Linked DNA regions of Homo sapiens: region 1 is linked to region 2. Evidence: promoter capture Hi-C in 16 types of primary human blood cells and fetal thymus (Javierre and others, 2016). All regions are on one chromosome and are shown on one strand. The core of a region is centred on a gene start or on the middle of the fragment in contact, and the rest is flanking DNA. Distances in the headings are between cores, read along the strand shown. Region 1 overlaps ALS2 (alsin Rho guanine nucleotide exchange factor ALS2). Region 2 holds the start of FZD7 (frizzled class receptor 7).

Region 1 (4,808 bases), core at 669-3,168, 260 kb before region 2:
TGTAGTAGAGTGACAAGTGATTTGGATACAAAATTACCATCAATTTCCTATAGTCATTAACACCTCCTTTTTAAAGTCTGAGTTGGTTACATATTATTACAATGTAGTAAACCAGAGTTTACACTTTGCAGTAAACAATAACAGAGTCTGGTATTTTACACATGGTAAATGCTTAATAAATAATTTGCTTTTAGAGGCTAGGTCAATGTTTACACATGGATTATGGTAACCTTTGACTCAAACACCTGACTTACAAATAATCTATACACCAACAACAACTGCTACTTCCTGGATATCCTGCCACTGAAGCCTTCCCAACCACTGTGGAAGGCTGAGGAAAACTCACCTTGCACTGAAGCCTTGGCCAACTAACCACCAAGAAGGCCACTTGGAACCCCACGCCTCTCAGCCTTAACTGCTGCACAGAAAGCATTGCCTGATACCAGTATGGGAGCCAATGAGCCTTCAAATCTTGACTCAGAGTAAGAGAATTCAGTAAATTAAGGCATTGGATATATTCGGTAGGCTGGCCTAGAAAGCTACTTATTAGTTATAATGTTGTTACTAATAGGATATGCACTAAGTCACTGATTCAAAATATATTTTAAGCTCCTGGAGGTCAGAGACTATGACTTATTCACCGGTATACTCTTGTACCCATAATAATCATTCTGAACAAGCTGGTTACATTTAAGTGAGTGCTTGAGTGAAAGATACAGCCCCTGATTTTCAGTTGCAATCCACAGACTTCCACGCTATAGATTTCTAGTGCCTGTAATAAAAGTCAGTAACAGATACAAAAGAAAAAAGTGTCTTCTCCTAATAGAAACTCTCATATATAATTTGCTAAAGGTATATCCTAACAATGAAGACACTTTTATCTCATGTCACTTTAAAAATGGTTAAACAACTCAGAGAAGTGTTCCTTTCTCCCTTTCTCCTTAGTACACAGACAGCTTTTGGTGCAATGAGAAACAGGAAGACTTTACAGTCTTTTTTTAATGCCTTGCTAATTTCATGCTGAAACTTACTGAAACTACACTCTCCTGGTTATGACGATCCTCTAATCGGAAATTATTCATGGTGGAGTGGGGGGAAAGTGTGTAAACATGGTACAATAAGTTCCCAGCAATGCCCATTTAGCTCTTTTTTGTACCCACTGCATATTTTAAACACATTTTTCAGGATTATTAAATAATAATCCCATGATGCATTGTGATGAATATTATAATACTAACAAATGAATTTCAAATTCCCAGGTACTGCCACTATTTGTGCCTGTTATTACATGGTACAGTGAATGTCCTGGTAAGTCCTGACACAAACTACTTATTCCGTTAATATTTGCAACTACTCTCTTATTAAAATGGCCACAATTTTTTCAAAGGCAATATTAGATTTACAGTTCAAAGTATGATGACTTCTTTCACCAACTGATAACAGTGCTTAGGATCATTCAGGGGCCACATAACTAAACAGGAAATACACATACTAAAAAATATTATTCTCGTGATACAAGTTTCACTTGCTTTAATAGTGCTAGTAGCAGGTTCTCTTTATTAGAAATAAAAATATTGTTTAACTCACAAGTTTAAATACTGAGGTTACATTAGGGATCAGCTACTAAACGTATTATTCATTAGTCAACCATTTAACACATTGTCATCAGGTTACTTACTAATATCTATAGAGACAACTATTTTCTTTGAGCAACAACTGGGATACTTGCATTCAAGGTATAAACTCAAGATAACTACGTTGTAATAAAATGTAACCAAGTTAAGCTTTTCAAAGTGTTAATGCTAATACTACACAAATCTGTAGTAATTTTGTATCTGAGTCACAACATGTCCAAATTCCTTTGAGGGCCTTATTATACAACTTGCTCCCCTATACTTCCAGAGTTCATGATTGGTATATGCCTACATTTCCCAAGCATCTCTAGAATGTTAATTCCCCTGCAGGCTTCATGTCCTAAAGAAAGCATTTTCCCAGGAGCACAAACAGCAAAGCAAAACTGACCAAATAATTGGTCTGTCTCCTCTCCTTAGAAAAGCTTTACATAGTGGAGCTGCACTGGCACATTCCTTTCTTATTGCAGGGAAAGAAGAGTTCTTTTTCCACAGTCTCCTAATTTGAGGGTACAAAGTAAAATAAAGCAAACATATTGGGAAACAGTCCTGATTATAAATAAAAATGTTAAAGTGCTAGTTTCACAAACTATCTTAACTATACATAAAACTGTAAAAATAAATAACAAATCTATGTACTCATCATCCAGTTTTAACACATATTAACATATTTTCATATTGGCTTCAGCTCTTTTTTAAAACACAAGAAAAAATAAGTTACAGAGGTGAAGAAACTCCACTCAGAATTAGTTACTATTTCTAAAGTTAATGTATCCCATTCCCACGTTTTCATATTTACTTTTATGTACTTTCATTAGATATACACATATCAATAAATAATGCATGCTATTATGTTGCTTTCAAAGTGTACACAAATGCATCTTACTGTATAAATCCTTTAGCATTTTGCTTTTTTCACCCAGTATTACATACTTGAGATGTATATATGTTGGTAAGTATAGATCTAGCTCATTCATTTTTATGAGAAGATAGTATTGAATTGCATGAATAAACCAGTTTATCCATTTCCCCACTAATCTTTACAGTTGGATTGCTCTACTTTATTGCTCTTTTAAAGAGCTGCTATAATCATCCTTGTTATATGTTTGCTTAGCCAATTGCCCCAAGTTTAGTTAAGATCTTGGCTCTACAAAAATTTAGGCTGTGGAAGAAAAAAAAATCCTGGAGTGAATGTTAGCCCACCCAAATGCCATTATTGGGTCTAAACCACTCCCTTCCTGATAGGGAGGCCATGTGAACTGAAGAACTGTGTGATGACTCAAAAGAAAAATATTTAAAATGTGATAATTAAGGGAAACATGAGATGATCAATTTGTGGAATTAATGAGATGAAAGCTGATCTTCTCTCTGGACATAATTCACTAGCAGCTAAGCGAAACTCTGCCAACAAACCCCAGTCTTTTTCTCATAGGTATTGAGAAAACTGTAAATTTTCTTCAAATTTGAAAGAAATATACAATAGCTCCAAAAACTACCAATTTAAATATTTTTTCCTCTACCCACCTGGATCAATCAGTTCAGCTACATGCAGGCAAACATCAAGACATAAGCTAAAGAAAGCACCATCACATATACAGATGAATAAGAGACAGGGAAAGGAAAATTAAATGCAATATGAAAAAGAAACAAGCCAGAGATTGTTGCTATTTTATTGATGACTACCTAACATTTTCTTAAGGACTGACACCCTACAAAACCGAGTACTTTCTTATTACAGACAACAAAATTGTTTGGTCATCAATGAAGGGTTAAGAGAAAAAAATCTGTTAAAACTCTCTACCAGGAAAATTCATATCCTGAATACACTTGAAATACGTGGTAGATTTAATTCCACAAAGTTATAAAAAGAGCTAAATGATTTAAAAGTCACAAATCCTCACAGCATGCCTCTGAGTGAGAAAGGTACCTCATAGTACCCAAAGCGGGCCTTCCTTTATACAAGCTTAAAAATCACCACTCTGCCTTTCTTCCTAGTTTTTCAACTCATACTTTACCTAGTCTCACATTAATAAATAATTGTAGATTTTTACAAGTCAGTCACATTTTTGAGATTATCATTAGAATGGACCCAGCAGCTACTGCTTTAAACCCAGTTTTCATGAAAAGGTAGGAGATTCCACCTAATTACAAAAACACTAACATCAAGACTCATTGAAGTTCTTAGCATACCCTTTGCTTCTTTAACAGTCAAAGTGCCCAAAGTAAGTGTTTCAAATGACAGCCCAAATTCTGAAAAACTGAAATTTGGAGAGAAGGGATTCCTGTTTATATTGAGTACATTTAAAAAGTAAATGGCCTGCATAATGCCACTCAAGTTTTGTTTTTTTCCCAAAATTATCGGTTTGGTATTTCATTTTTCTGGATCATTACAGTTTCAAATTTTAACACTGTTAAACAACTTTGACGTTTTCTTGCTATAATTATGAATTTTAAATCTGCTAATACTGGTCATAGTTTAGAAACTAATAAATTCAAACCATGTATAGATTCTGTCAGTATCTTTTTCACATTAAAATGTCCTTATGGAACACCAAAATTACTACAGAACAACTTGAAATCATATTTTATAGCTACTTCCTTAAAATATTCAGTTCCCTTCCCCATCACTTAAGAAAAGAGTCAGTTTGGATCATGATGTAGTGGGAGGAATTAATTATAAAAACAGCTAATATGTATTGAATATTTACCATAAAACAGGCACTGTAATAAATACGATACATGAACCATTACACGTAAAGGTACTGTTATCAGGAAAACATTTTTATCCCCAATTTAGAGACAAGAGAACTGAGGCAGAGAGATTAAATAACTTGCCCAAAATCAAAGATGTAAATGGATGTGACTCTGGGTATGTTCAGATACAAAGCCTAGAATCTTAACCACTATGCTTATGTTATCAAGGTTAAAACACCGTAGTTTACTGCAAAAAATTTTTCACTGCTTTAAATTATTCATTAACTCAAAGGTCAACCGGTCACTCCAAATCATATGATAAATGGGGGGGAAAATGTGGGACCAATAGGTTTGCTGAAGTTTTGTACCTGCTCAGAATAAACATATCACACAATTTTATTCCATATAGCCAAATATAAGGGTAACTGAGTAAAGATCTTCACTTGGGTACAGCAGTCAGTTCCTTCTCCATCCTAAACCAGA
Region 2 (4,645 bases), core at 165-2,664:
GCACAGGATTGCTGTGTGTGTGTGTGTGTGTGTGTGTGTGTGAGAGAGAGAGAGAGAGAGACAGAGGAAAGAGGAGGAGGAGGAGAGATTGATTGATTGATTTTTTTCTTTTCCTTCTCAACATGTCACTTTCCTGCATGGGAATTCCTGATATTCCTGGCAGCCCGGAGAGAGGGGAGAGGCCCCCTGGTGACTTATGACCCCCGCAGGAGTAACCAGAGAGCGCGCGCGAGCGCCCAGCGCCTGGCTCAAGACGAAGATTTAACCGAGAACAAAAGAACGTTTGCCAATCAGAAAACGCTACCCGAGAACGAGGATAACCCCGCTTTGTGTTTTGAAAACTCTTTAATTAGCCTGGTTTCTAAGACGCATTAAAACATTCCTACGCAGATTCTAAATGGAGGATCAAATGGTTGCTTCTGCAACGAAGATGGGATCCCGAAAGGGCACACGCCGCAGAACCAAGGCACACGGGGCCACTGAGACGCCCGGCGCGTCGTACAGAGTGTTCCTGGGCGCTCGGTCTCAGGTTACTTCTAGAACCAGTCTCCCCAACGCCGTCTTCGTTTCCTTAAAACCTCGCTAGAGTCACCCCAGTTCCCCAGACTCCAGGCCGTGCGCGCGGGCGGGGTGGCCTGAGCCCGGGTTCCCCGCTCTCCCTGCTTCGGGCCCTTCCTCCGAGGGGTCCTTCCTCCCGCCGTCACTCGGCCCCCTCCGCCCGACTCGGGTTTCTCCTCGGAGGCGGCCCCTCCTCCTTTTTATAACTCGGGGGAGGGGAGAGGGGACTGTGGCCTCGCGTGGACTCTTTGGGTCCGGGGGGAAAGAGGCGATCCGCAAGGCGCACCCCCTTCTCGTCCCGTCCCAAACCCCACATTGAGGACCCGGCGACCCGAAAGCCCCGCCAGAGCCAGCCTTTGCAGTCCTAACGCGACTCCTGGTCACGTCTCTCCCCGAAGGGGCGCTGCGCGGTCCTCGCTCCCCTCAAACGCCGCTGGCGAAGGCGCCCCTGCTCAGGAATGCGCATCTGAGTGCACCAGGAAGAGGAACAAATCTTTGAAGCAAATTCCCTTTCTGCGCGTTTTCGTCCCTGAGCGAATTCAGGGTAAAAGTTTTTCCGAACTTTTCCCTCCCAGTCCCCCGCCCCTCCCCTCAGGAATCCGCCCAGAGCGCCGCGGACACCGCCTCCGCCACTCCCGCGCCCGCCCCTTCCGACTTCCGCCCAATCCGAAGGCGGCCACCGAAAAAACAAAGGCCGCCATTGGGCCGCCGGGGCCTGGGGCCGCCCCCGGAGTGGTTTGTGAATGGGGGGGGAGGGGAGGGGAGGGGAGGGGACGGGAGGGGACGGGAGGGGGCGGGCCGGCCCGGAACCCCGCGAGCCCGACGCTTCTTCTGGCGACCAGCGCGACTCCGAGGCGTTAGTCGGCGCTCACTCCCGGCGGGCGGCGGCGGCGGCGGCGGCGGCGGGCGCCAGGACTCGCTGCTGGGGCTGCGAGGGGCTGGAGGGGCCGGGGCCAGGCCGCGGGCACGAGCGCCTCGCGGTTTCGGACGCAGTGTGACTGGGTTTCCAAAAAGAACTCGCCGTGCTCCCGACTCCGGGGCCGAGATCGGACTCAGCAAGAGCCGGCCGTTTGGCTGAAACTTGGGGCCGAGCTTTTGGGGCTGAAGAAGGAGCGGGGTGTGGAGGAGGAGGCGAAGGAGGCGGCGACGAGCGGAGCCTCGAGGCCAGGAGGCGGGGCAGCACCGCGGAGGCGGCGGCCGGGGCGAGCGAGCGGCGGCGGCAGGGGTTCTCCTAGCGGGGACCGGACCAGGCGCGGGGGGCGTGCGCGCTGCGGTGCGCCGGGGGTCCAGAGTCTTGGGCAAACTTTGAAGGGTGCCGGAGCCGCTTGTTGCTCCTCGCGGCGGAGGGAGCCGCACCGTTACGTCCCCGCGGGGAGAGCGAGGCGGCCCTCCTCGGCGCCCCCAACCCAGGCTGACGAGTTTTGGGCCCCCGGCGGCCCTGCGAGTGCAGGGCGGCGGCGTCTGCGGCGCCTTCGCGGCGCGGGCACCCAGGCGGCAGCGCCCTTTGCTCCACGCCGCCCACGGCCCGGCCCCGGCGCCGTGAGGACTCTCATGCGTCGGGCGCGGCGGCGCCTCCCCGCATCCAAGCCTCTCCCAACCGCCTCGTCGCACTCCTCAGGCTGAGAGCACCGCTGCACTCGCGGCCGGCGATGCGGGACCCCGGCGCGGCCGCTCCGCTTTCGTCCCTGGGCCTCTGTGCCCTGGTGCTGGCGCTGCTGGGCGCACTGTCCGCGGGCGCCGGGGCGCAGCCGTACCACGGAGAGAAGGGCATCTCCGTGCCGGACCACGGCTTCTGCCAGCCCATCTCCATCCCGCTGTGCACGGACATCGCCTACAACCAGACCATCCTGCCCAACCTGCTGGGCCACACGAACCAAGAGGACGCGGGCCTCGAGGTGCACCAGTTCTACCCGCTGGTGAAGGTGCAGTGTTCTCCCGAACTCCGCTTTTTCTTATGCTCCATGTATGCGCCCGTGTGCACCGTGCTCGATCAGGCCATCCCGCCGTGTCGTTCTCTGTGCGAGCGCGCCCGCCAGGGCTGCGAGGCGCTCATGAACAAGTTCGGCTTCCAGTGGCCCGAGCGGCTGCGCTGCGAGAACTTCCCGGTGCACGGTGCGGGCGAGATCTGCGTGGGCCAGAACACGTCGGACGGCTCCGGGGGCCCAGGCGGCGGCCCCACTGCCTACCCTACCGCGCCCTACCTGCCGGACCTGCCCTTCACCGCGCTGCCCCCGGGGGCCTCAGATGGCAGGGGGCGTCCCGCCTTCCCCTTCTCATGCCCCCGTCAGCTCAAGGTGCCCCCGTACCTGGGCTACCGCTTCCTGGGTGAGCGCGATTGTGGCGCCCCGTGCGAACCGGGCCGTGCCAACGGCCTGATGTACTTTAAGGAGGAGGAGAGGCGCTTCGCCCGCCTCTGGGTGGGCGTGTGGTCCGTGCTGTGCTGCGCCTCGACGCTCTTTACCGTTCTCACCTACCTGGTGGACATGCGGCGCTTCAGCTACCCAGAGCGGCCCATCATCTTCCTGTCGGGCTGCTACTTCATGGTGGCCGTGGCGCACGTGGCCGGCTTCCTTCTAGAGGACCGCGCCGTGTGCGTGGAGCGCTTCTCGGACGATGGCTACCGCACGGTGGCGCAGGGCACCAAGAAGGAGGGCTGCACCATCCTCTTCATGGTGCTCTACTTCTTCGGCATGGCCAGCTCCATCTGGTGGGTCATTCTGTCTCTCACTTGGTTCCTGGCGGCCGGCATGAAGTGGGGCCACGAGGCCATCGAGGCCAACTCGCAGTACTTCCACCTGGCCGCGTGGGCCGTGCCCGCCGTCAAGACCATCACTATCCTGGCCATGGGCCAGGTAGACGGGGACCTGCTGAGCGGGGTGTGCTACGTTGGCCTCTCCAGTGTGGACGCGCTGCGGGGCTTCGTGCTGGCGCCTCTGTTCGTCTACCTCTTCATAGGCACGTCCTTCTTGCTGGCCGGCTTCGTGTCCCTCTTCCGTATCCGCACCATCATGAAACACGACGGCACCAAGACCGAGAAGCTGGAGAAGCTCATGGTGCGCATCGGCGTCTTCAGCGTGCTCTACACAGTGCCCGCCACCATCGTCCTGGCCTGCTACTTCTACGAGCAGGCCTTCCGCGAGCACTGGGAGCGCACCTGGCTCCTGCAGACGTGCAAGAGCTATGCCGTGCCCTGCCCGCCCGGCCACTTCCCGCCCATGAGCCCCGACTTCACCGTCTTCATGATCAAGTACCTGATGACCATGATCGTCGGCATCACCACTGGCTTCTGGATCTGGTCGGGCAAGACCCTGCAGTCGTGGCGCCGCTTCTACCACAGACTTAGCCACAGCAGCAAGGGGGAGACTGCGGTATGAGCCCCGGCCCCTCCCCACCTTTCCCACCCCAGCCCTCTTGCAAGAGGAGAGGCACGGTAGGGAAAAGAACTGCTGGGTGGGGGCCTGTTTCTGTAACTTTCTCCCCCTCTACTGAGAAGTGACCTGGAAGTGAGAAGTTCTTTGCAGATTTGGGGCGAGGGGTGATTTGGAAAAGAAGACCTGGGTGGAAAGCGGTTTGGATGAAAAGATTTCAGGCAAAGACTTGCAGGAAGATGATGATAACGGCGATGTGAATCGTCAAAGGTACGGGCCAGCTTGTGCCTAATAGAAGGTTGAGACCAGCAGAGACTGCTGTGAGTTTCTCCCGGCTCCGAGGCTGAACGGGGACTGTGAGCGATCCCCCTGCTGCAGGGCGAGTGGCCTGTCCAGACCCCTGTGAGGCCCCGGGAAAGGTACAGCCCTGTCTGCGGTGGCTGCTTTGTTGGAAAGAGGGAGGGCCTCCTGCGGTGTGCTTGTCAAGCAGTGGTCAAACCATAATCTCTTTTCACTGGGGCCAAACTGGAGCCCAGATGGGTTAATTTCCAGGGTCAGACATTACGGTCTCTCCTCCCCTGCCCCCTCCCGCCTGTTTTTCCTCCCGTACTGCTTTCAGGTCTTGTAAAATAAGCATTTGGAAGTCTTGGGAGGCCTGCCTGCTAGAATCCTAATGTGAGGATGCAAAAGAAATGATGATAACATTTTGAGATAAGGCC

The links. Contacts are between HindIII fragments. The CHiCAGO score rates a contact against its expected background, and 5 or more counts as called.
Region 1: a contact is called between a fragment that was not itself captured here and the fragment with the promoter of FZD7 in region 2, in 1 of 17 cell types (fetal thymus). The highest score is 5.8, in fetal thymus.

The regions. Positions count from the first base shown.
Region 1 is chr2:201,775,286-201,780,093 of GRCh38, forward strand. The region is part of intron 1 of ALS2 (alsin Rho guanine nucleotide exchange factor ALS2); the gene reads right to left. Among named protein-coding and RNA genes, the nearest start is that of ALS2, 3.2 kb to the right of the region's middle. The HindIII fragment of the contact is 272 bases long and covers 1,783-2,054 here.
Region 2 is chr2:202,032,441-202,037,085 of GRCh38, forward strand. It overlaps FZD7 (frizzled class receptor 7), which reads left to right and starts at 1,415. Exons shown (of 1, transcript NM_003507.2): 1 at 1,415-4,645. The coding sequence starts at 2,208. The coding sequence ends at 3,932. RefSeq lists silencers at 997-1,546, 1,657-1,736 and enhancers at 2,299-3,139, 2,337-2,456. The HindIII fragment of the contact is 9,940 bases long and covers 1-4,645 here.